2 separate regions of the Homo sapiens genome follow, and region 2 is linked to region 1. Evidence: promoter capture Hi-C in 16 types of primary human blood cells and fetal thymus (Javierre and others, 2016). All regions are on one chromosome and are shown on one strand. The core of a region is centred on a gene start or on the middle of the fragment in contact, and the rest is flanking DNA. Distances in the headings are between cores, read along the strand shown. Region 1 holds the start of PHOSPHO2 (phosphatase, orphan 2). Region 2 overlaps FASTKD1 (FAST kinase domains 1).

Region 1 (4,905 bases), core at 1,759-4,258:
TCATGACAATCTTCAGTTTTAAACATCAGCCAGTTGTTTTCAAATATTACTCCTATTCTATATACAGGGAACAGAGTCTTCTGGTTTGGAGCAAAATAATGGAAACTTCTTAACTCCTAAAATTAATAAAAGTATTTTAAAAGCTTTAACATTTGTATTTTCAGGCCGGGCGCAGTGGCTCACGCCTGTAATCCCAGCACTTTGGAAGGCCGAGGCGGGGGATCACGAGGTCAGGAAATGGAGACCATCCTGGCTAACACAGTGAAACCCCATCTCTACTAAAAATACAAAAAATTAGCTGGGCGTGGTGGCGGGCACCTGTAGTCCTAGCTACTTGGGAGACTGAGGCAGGAGAATGGTATGAACCTGGGAGGCGGAGCTTGCAGTGAGCCGAGATCGCGCCACTGCACTCTAGCCTGGGCAACAGAGCGAGACTCCGTGTCAAAAAAAAAAAAATTTTTTTTTTTGTATTTTCTAATTATGTTGTTTTTCTAATGTCAGAAAAGCATCTTTTGGCAATAGGAGAACAAAGTTTTGCTTTCCACTTGGTATCGACTTGGTGTCGAAAATAAGAAATGTTATGTGAAAATAAGTTTTTGTCCAGTGGATAAAATCAGTGTTAAGCTGATTGAGATTTTCAGAGTCCATTTTTTCTTTGTACTTGTTTAATAATAGAGGAGTTCCACATTCTGTTGTCAATAGACATTTAGTGCTGTACTAGAAATTAAAATGTCTCCAAAAATTAAGAATATGAACAAAGATTTAGTTTTAAGAATGTGAATCTGTTTTGAAACCAATTTGTTAAAATTCCAAAAAGTTAACTGTTCTCTTCAAAAGCACAATCTATGTCTATTTGGTATGTCTGCAATGTTTCCATAGTGTAACAATATCCTGCATACTTTACACAATAATGAAAATTAAAAACTACACAGACATCCAAGAATTGGGAAATAATTAAGTAAGATATGCATGTGATAGCAAATAACAGAATATCCAGCCAGTAAAAGCCAAGATATTCAGTTCAAATTAAATAAGCAAGTCACAAAATAGTGTGTACAGTATAATCCTGTTTTTGTTTTAGAAAATGTTTACATGTGCAGTGGGATGGTTATGGTTGGTTCAACCGTAGTTCACACTTTTTCTACATCAATTTTGTAATAAAATTTTTTTCTTCTCAGAATAATTTAAACTCTGTTTCAGATCAGAGTGCATATGCTACCTTATTAAATTCACAACAAAGAAATAAAAGAGTGGTGGGTATAGGACAAATAACTCTAGATTGACTTGGTTGTGACAATCCACAGGTTGGAGCTGGAATCTCGAGTCTGAAGTCAAATTATATCTGACCACCATGTCAAATTGGCAAGTAACTGACATCAAATCATGAGATTCAATACTTTTGTAACCAATTTTGTTAAAATTCCAGAAAATTGTTGTTGGGAGACAATTTTCCCTGCGTCTCTGGTGGTTCTGCATGTCTTACTGACTGCCCTTTCCTCTAGACTATTGTCTCAAGGATGTTTGTACACTGGACAGCCTTGAGAAACATGCTTATTTGTCCAAATGATAAAGATCTGGGTTCCCTAAGCTCAGGGCTCCTTTCCTGTAATTCGACACACACTACATCTAGGTGACTTCTTGCCCACTTTGCATTATCCTGTGGGAACTGGGGCTTTAGGGAACTCAGGCGAAATTGCTGATTTACTGGCTACTGCTGGGAGTAATTCATTCCTGAAATGAATAGTCTTGTGTCTTCCATGAAACTGCCAGGCTAAGTTAGCCTGCAAACAGGGTAAAAATCTCTGTTCCTTCCCAGTTCTTGAAACTTTTTTTTTTTTTGAGACGGAGTCTCGCTCTGTCGCCCAGGCTGGAGTGCAGTGGCACGATGGTCGGCTCACTGCAAGCTCCGCCTCCCAGGTTCACGCCATTCTCCTGCCTCAGCCTCCAGAGTACCTGGAACTACAGGCGCCCGCCACCACGCCTGGCTAATTTTTTTGTATTTTTGCTAGAGACAGGGTTTCACCGTGTTAGCCAGGATGGTCTCGATCTCCTGACCTCGTGATCCGCCCGCCTCGGCCTCCCAAAGTGCTGGGATTACAGGCGTGAGCCACCGCGCCTGGCCCCCAGTTCTTGACACTTTTTAAGGTATAGTTCCAAAAACCTACCAGCGCTGTATGTGCACAAACTAATTTCTGTCTTCAAATATTTTCTTAATTATTCCATACTTACCAGCATTATTACGTGGAACATCTGATAGAAAACCTAAAGAAAAATAGCACGACTATGTGTTAGAACATTCGTTATTAAAAATCTTTTTGTTCTTTCATTTTGAGAGACTCCAATTTGGTGCATTATGTGTACACGTCAGAGCCAACTTGTTAGTAATGAAGTTATCTGTACATCAATGTGTTAGAAAAGCATCTTTTGAAACCAAACGCGCAGCTACTCCTAACAGATTTCTGTGGTCATGTATTTACCAAGAAATTTAAAATATCTCAAAGGTCCTAACGTAAATATTCTAAGCATATCATTACGTTTTAACATTCCTATTTTTAAAAAACTTGGCCCCATCTAGTCCTGACCATGCCTCAGAAACCAAAGGATTAAAAAAACAGCGTTTATGTCAGCGAATCCGCGGGTTTTTATAGTTAAGGGAGGGCTTTGCTCCTCACACTCCACCCGCGAGGAGATCTGCGGACGCACACACCACGCCTAGGCCTCGCGCGCTCACACACCTGCCGGCTCCACCCCGAGGGTAGGCATCGGACCCAATCGGGGGTCGTCCCCCATGGGGAGCGCGCAGGTGGGGATGGGAGTAGCAGGCAGGGCGGGGGCCCACGGGCTTCTCACTGACCCAGTCCCGCCGTCGGCAGCCGCCCCGGCGCCCGTGACGCTCCTGCGGGTTCAGTCCTTTGGCCTCGCCCCACGCCTGCCCTCTCGGCAGCCCCACTCACAAGCCCAGCTCGCAAGCGCAGGCGCCTCTCTTCTCTAGCCCGACCGCCAACTGCAGCACCTCCCTTGTTCCTCGGCTACGGCTGGCGTCACTTCCGGCGGCGTTGCCAAGCAACCGCGTGGTACGAGTAACAACTCCACCGGCTGGCGTCCGCGGCGCTTGGCGCCACAGTCACTTTTCCAGATCTAGGAGCATCATGGACACCTCGTCAGAGATGCTGGTACGGTTTGGACGGCGCTGTGGACGGGCGAAGGAAAGTACAGGTGAGCTAAACTGACCTATCCAGGGACAGGGATTGTTTCTGGACCCCCGGCATGGAGTGAGAGGCGAGGATGCCGAATGAGGGCTTCAGTTGCCTTTTGAAATGGACTCCACCAGGTCGAAAGCATCCTCAATAAGCATCTTTGGGCTCTGTGTGAAGTTAGGCCGTCTTGCCCTCAGGTGAATGGGTGAAGGAGGGAAACGGGGAGTGGAAGTGGGTGGGAGAATGTTTACAGAAATAGGGGTGGAGAAAAGATAGGAAATCAGAGACCCCCACCCCCAGCCCCAGCTGACCTAAAACTGCGCAGTTGCAGCTCTGAGAGTCTGGGTTTTGTTAAATTTCCCGCACGCTTAAAGTTTGTTATTCACTGATTGAATTGGAATATCTCTTGGAAATATAAGTCACCTCTTTAGAGGCTTGGCTCTTCTGCAAACCTGCTGATTGGTCTTTACTAAAAGTCTCTGAAGGAAATATCTCCATTTCCTCCTCTCTAAAGTAAATATAAGGTCTCTCTCTAAGTCAAATGCTTTTAGAGAGTTAAAAAAAAATCGTGTGACATAAAGTACTGTAATTCAGGTGACCTGTTATAACAATTTGATTTTGGAATAGAAATAGACTTCTAAAGAACTCTATCAATTCTAGCTACAACAGTTTCTTACGTCTGTAAATTAGCAATTAATGTTGTCATGGTGACAACTAGAACTTTGGCAATTTGAAGTATCTTCATGTCATTGCCCGAGCTTCTGTAGCAATAGTGCCCCCTGCACCAGATGCAGAGTGACAGCCAGTCATTCTTCACTAGTGGATATTTATGCAGTGGAGGTTTTATGAGGTTAGCAGCGGACTTTTGCCATGTAAAAGGAAAGAAACAGTACCAACATGGCCAGTTTTGGAAAAGCACAATTAGTCCCACACATTCACTTTCCTGCATATGCATTTCTGCACTACCTGGTTTAGATTTACCTAATAGTTGTTAAATAATGTTTTGTGGCAACTAGCTCAAAAGCTTCCACCTGAGCCTCACTGCTAAATTTTAATCTCCATTTTTAGGGGAAGGCTAAGTTGGAGAGAGGTTCAGAGATGTGTGCAGCTATTAGTAAAATAAATAATTTATAAAGATTTAGTGGGATGACATCAGCCAGAATGGTGAAATAGGATCTATGCCTGAAATCCTCTCCTCCATAAAATCAACAAGAACAGTGGCAAAAATCATCAATATCGACTTTTTCAGAACTCTGGAAATTAACCAAAGGCTTGCAACAATTTGTAGAGTGTTTACTAAAGAAAAACAGCTGGATTTTTGTAACAACAGCAAGGTTTTTGGCATTTTAACTTGCCATAGTCCTATACTTTTCTCCCAGCCCCGTGTCAGCCTAGATAACCACAGTAATCACAGTGAAAAATAGTGACTTAGCAACTGGTAGAGGGGACAAAACAGAATTTGACCCACTCCAAAGCCAGACAACTGTTATTATTCGACATGTTTGATAGTTCCTTGGAAAATCTCACTCATGAGGCTTATTGTTATTTAGTCTGACTTCAAACTCACCAAGTATGTTTGTCAAATGTTCAGTGGCAATTTTAAATATCACAGCTATCAGAGGCATGTGTGGGAACTTAATCCCCAATGTAAAAATGTTGGAAGGTAGGGACTAATGAGAGGTGATAGGCCATGAGGGCAGAGTAAAGG
Region 2 (4,905 bases), core at 1,527-4,026, 130 kb after region 1:
GGGGTTTCACCATGTTAGCCAGGATGGTCTTGATCTCCTGACCTTGTGATCCGCATGCCTCGGCCTCCCAAAATGCTGGGATTACAGGCGTGAGCCACTGTGCCAGGTCTAAAAATCTCTTCAAAATGAAAAATAATTTTTTTCACCAGTAGTTTTCCTGATAATCTAATTTTTTTGTTTTGTTTTGTTTTGTTTTGAGGCGGAGTCTTGCTCTGTCACCAGGCTGGAGTACAGTGGCACAATCTTGGCTCACTGCAACCTCCGCCTCCCAGGTTCAAGCAATTCTCCTTTAACAACTGTAATACTATTGTTAACTGTGGGCATTTGAAATTGGATTATTGTGGAGTTTTGTGAAAATGTGGTTGGCTGCAGATGAGGATATAGTAGGTAAGCAGTTAGATTTAAGATTAATGCCAGTCGGGTGTGGTGACTCACACTTGTAATCCCAGCACTTTGGGAGGCTGAGGTGGGTGGATCACCTGAGGTCAGGAGTTCAAGACCAGCCTGGCCAACATGGTGAAACCCTGCCTCTACTAAAAATACAAAAATTAGCTGGGCGTGATGGCAGGCACCTGGAATCCCAGCTACTCTGGAGGCTGAGGCAGGAGAATCTCTTGAATTCACGTGGTAGAGGTTGCAGTGAGCACAGATCATGCTACTCTACTCCATTCTGGGCGACAGAGTGAGACGCTGTCTCCAAAAAAAAAAAAAAAAAGTAATGCCTAATAACAATCAGCAATTAGTAAATTTTGTCTGTGATAACTTGTTTGCAATCTCGTTATTGTAATTAAATGGACGGCACATATGTTTTCTAGGGGGTATTGGTACAATAGGTTGTTTCTCAATAATAGCCCTTAAAAGGAAAAAGAAATAAAATGATTTTGTAGATTCATTTATATTTGATAACAATGTTATACAAATTATGTGGATGGTTGATAGGTATTACGTAAAGAAGGGCTTCCTTGGTGTCAGTGGAAAAACTCAGAGATAAATGTTAAGAAATATTACATTCCAGTTTTGGGATTTGTGAAGAAAAAATGAAGAGAGCAAAGAAAAAAGGAAAAAAAATAAAAAGAAATATGTTGTTTGCAAGGAAATCCAGCCTTCAAAAGAACTGGGTTCCCTGAATGAAGGCTTCAGCAGTTGTACAAGGGGGAAAAAACAAAAAAGTTACACCTAATCTGTTTATTAGTCTCACTGATGAAAAAGAGCAGTTTTCTCACATGATGACCCAACCTTCAGGGGTTATTTAAATGGCTGTAAATATCAGCATTACGTAAGTTAGAGACGTGTAAGTTGTTTTTGTAAGAGAATTGGCATTTATAGGAAAGGGGCTTGGGGCTTATATTGGGGATTGATGTTAAACTGAAAAAGGATGATTCCATGTTTTTTGGTGGCCTTTCTCAGGTTACAAAGTTGTTTTCTCTGAGGTACTTGAAGGGGATGCTTAAAGTTTTGTGAATAAGGTGATTGGTGACTATTAGCTTTTTAATTTTTTTACAAACATTTTCTTATAAAAATATTTTATTTATTTATTTATGAGGTGGAGTCTCACTCTGTCACCGAGGCTGGAGTGCAGTGGTGCAGTCTCGGCTCTCTGCAACCTCTACCTCCAGGGTTCAAGCAATTTTCCTGCCGTAGCCTCCTGAGTAGCTGGGATTAAAGGCACATGCCACCACGCCCAGCTAATTTTTGTATTTTTAGTAGAGACGGGGTTTCACCATGTTGCCCAGGCTGGTCTCGAACTCCTGACCTTAAGTGATCCGCCCGCCTCAGCCTGCTAAAGTGCTGGGATTACAGGTGTGAGCCACCATGCCTGATCAAAAGTATTTAAATCAGAACAAAGACATATTATATGTACTTTTAACATAAATATATTGTTGAACATTATCATTGGTCAGTAGCATGGGTATTGAAATAAGCAGATAAAAGGGTGAGAGGGCATGGGATAAAGTATAGATGTTTATTAGGCTGTACCAAAAAATCAGAATATTGAAATAAGAGTGGACCAGAAATAAGGACTGCCTGTATAAGAGGAAAATAACTTGAGTTTCACTTTTGCATTATCATTCGTATTGCATATGTTTTTAATGATTTTAAAATGATTATGTATGGAGGATTCTTTCTTTTTTATTAAGGTTTGCTGGTGAGGCCCATGACCCGCTAGTTGAAGCACTAGTTACAGAAGCATGGAGAAGGCTAGAAAGGCAAGTACCCTGGGTTCATCTTGAAGATCAGGGTTATTCTTTTCAGGGTTAACAGAGTGAAATCTTGAAGGGAAAGAACAGGGAACTGATGCCTGTCAAGCTTCACTGAAAAAAATGTATTTAAACTCAGTTTAGTTTTAAAGTTTTTGATTGTGTAATGTGTTGTTGTTTTTTTTTTTTTTTTTGAGATGGAGTCTCACTCTGTCGCCCAGGCTGGAGTGCAGTGGCGTGGTCTCAGCTCACTGCAACCTCTGCCTCCTGGGTTCAAGCAATTCTCTGCCTCAGCCTCCTAAGTAGCTGGGATTATAGGCACCCACCATGACTCAGGGCTAATTGTTTGTATTTTTAGTAGAGATGGGGTTTCACCATCTTGGCCAGGCTGGTCTTGAACTCCTGACCTCGTGATCCACCTGCCTCAGCCTCCCAGAGTACTGGGATTATAGGCGTGAGCCACCGCTCCCAGCCATGTCTTTTCTTTTTTCTTTTCTTTTCTTTCTTTCTTTTTCTTCTCTCTTTTTCTGTCTCTCTTTTTTTTTTTTTTTTTTTTTTTTTTTTAATGGACAGGGTCTTGACATGTTGCCCAGGCTGGTTTTGAACTCTTGGGCTCAAGCAATACTTCCTCCTTGGCCTCACAAAGTGCTGGGTTTATATGCATGAGCCACCATGCCTGGCTGTGTATTCTTTAAGAGAGAAAAGAAAGTATTTCATATTTTTCCTCTTTAAGAGTGGGGAATAGTATACTTTTCCACACATGTAATTAGTTGAAATATAAATAAGATAGAGTCACAGCTATTCATGAACTAGCCTTTTTGAATCTTCTTTTCTAGAAGAATACTTCAGAAAGGAAAGATTCTTGATTAATTGGCTATCAATAAAAACCTAGAAGTGCAGGAGCCAGGAAAGGAGAAAAAAAGAGACCCTAGTTTATTAGAGAGGAAGGCCATTTAACACTGTTTAGGAGCATCTGTAGCTACTTGTCTGTTACTCCATTTTTAAGGAGAGGCAATGACCAGAGCTTATAGGTGACTTAGAAGCTTTTTAAAGAAAGTGAGTTTCAGGTCCACTGCTGTGGACAGTATTAATTCAGATATATTTCCTATATTGTACACAGCTCTATTTTCAGCATGTTGCCTTACTTGATAATCATTCAGAAAAATGGGAAATCTTGTGAGTACAGAGAAATTTATTCTCTAATTATATATCAGAAGCTCTTTATTTATAAAAGGGCTGAGATAATAGCAGACTCATTTTGGGAAATCTTCATCTATTTCTGAAAACTTTGAATTTTTTAATCTAGGAACTCTGGATGATTGTAGTCTATTGTTAGTGGAATAAGGCAAATGTTAGGGAGGAAAGAAAAAAATCAGGGTGAGGAAGAGATAGGAGGATATTAAAAACTACAGAGCAACTCTCCCTCTAAATCAAATGGAAACCAGACAGGAAAGTCTTGACTAAGATGAAGGAGAAACAACAGGCTATTTATTTGTAGACAGAGAGGAGCGACCATTCTGATTTTTAAAATATTTTTAACATATTGCCTCTTAAAGCTTAAACTATAATAAATACTTATATATTGGTAAACTCTGTAGGCCTTTATTACATGGGCTGGATTAAATTAAGGGACAGAACAGTTCTCCAGATTTAGAAATTCTGTATTAATCTACTAAGTTGTGATTTTAAGTTAATCTTATTAGCTAAACCCATCTGTCTTCTTTTATACTCTCTACCTATAAGTATATTGAGGGTAAGCAGAGTAATCTTATTCCTTTTGCTAACAGTACAAATTATCTATTTACTGGATCTTTGGGGTTAGATTTGTTGATAATAGGTCACAACATTTTATTTCTCTTCAAAGCAAGGATACGTTATGTGTATTATGCAGCTTGAACAAATCACTTGTAAAATAGGTGGTCTTTTGTGTTTTATAATTACTGTATTAATTAAATTACATGTATGATTGTATTTTATAGTGAATCAAGCATTTCTTTTAAATTTTTCTTTATTTCAAAATAACTCAGAAGTACAATGATCTTGCTAAAATATCTATAAACTTATGTTTTTTTTTTTTTGAGACAGAGTCTCGCTCTGTTGCCCAGGCGGGAGCGTAGTGGTGTGATCTCAGCTCACTGCAAGCTCCGCCTCCTGGGTTCAAGTGATTGTCCTGCCTCAACCTCCCAAGTAGCTGGGACTACAGGCACCTGCCACCACACCTAGCTAATTTTTGTATTTTTAGTAGAGACAGGGTTTCACCATATTGGCCAGGCTGGTCTCAAACTCCTGACCTCGTGATCTGCCCACCTTGGCCTCCCAAAGTGCTGGGATTACAGGTGTGAGCCACTGTGCCCAGCCTGTTTTATAAATATAATTTGTAATGATTTAAATGGGGTAGATTATTCTGGATTAGTACTATATGATGAATCATGGCAAGGATAATTAACATGTATTTGAAATCCATATATATTTTTTTCTTTTGGGATAGGGTTTGGCTCTGTTACCCAGGGTGGAGTACAGTGGTACAACCAGGGCTCACTGCAGCCTCAGACTTCCAGGCTCAAGCCATCGTCCTATCTCAGCCTCCCAAGTTTCTGGGACCACAGGTGGATGCCACCACGCCCAGCTAATTTTTATATTTTTAGTAGAGATGGGATTTCGCCATGTTGCCAGGTTGGTCTTGAACTCCTGGGCTCAAGGAATCCTC

Evidence for each region. Contacts are between HindIII fragments. The CHiCAGO score rates a contact against its expected background, and 5 or more counts as called.
Region 2: a contact is called between a fragment that was not itself captured here and the fragment with the promoter of PHOSPHO2 in region 1, in 2 of 17 cell types (total B cells and total CD8 T cells). The highest score is 6.5, in total B cells.

What each region holds. Positions count from the first base shown.
Region 1 is chr2:169,692,572-169,697,476 of GRCh38, reverse strand. PHOSPHO2 (phosphatase, orphan 2) reads right to left here and starts at 3,008. Exons shown (of 4, transcript NM_001008489.4): 1 at 2,855-3,008; 2 at 2,230-2,262; 3 at 1-116. CFAP210 (cilia and flagella associated protein 210) reads left to right here and starts at 3,072. Exons shown (of 9, transcript NM_001085447.2): 1 at 3,072-3,216. The coding sequence starts at 3,150. It overlaps PHOSPHO2-KLHL23 (PHOSPHO2-KLHL23 readthrough), which reads right to left and starts at 3,008. Exons shown (of 5, transcript NR_144936.2): 1 at 2,855-3,008; 2 at 2,230-2,262; 3 at 1-116. RefSeq lists a silencer at 2,700-2,979 and an enhancer at 3,110-3,289. The HindIII fragment of the contact is 4,078 bases long and covers 146-4,223 here.
Region 2 is chr2:169,566,486-169,571,390 of GRCh38, reverse strand. FASTKD1 (FAST kinase domains 1) reads left to right here. Exons shown (of 15, transcript NM_024622.6): 3 at 2,139-2,207. Among named protein-coding and RNA genes, the nearest start is that of FASTKD1, 4.9 kb to the left of the region's middle. The HindIII fragment of the contact is 934 bases long and covers 2,310-3,243 here.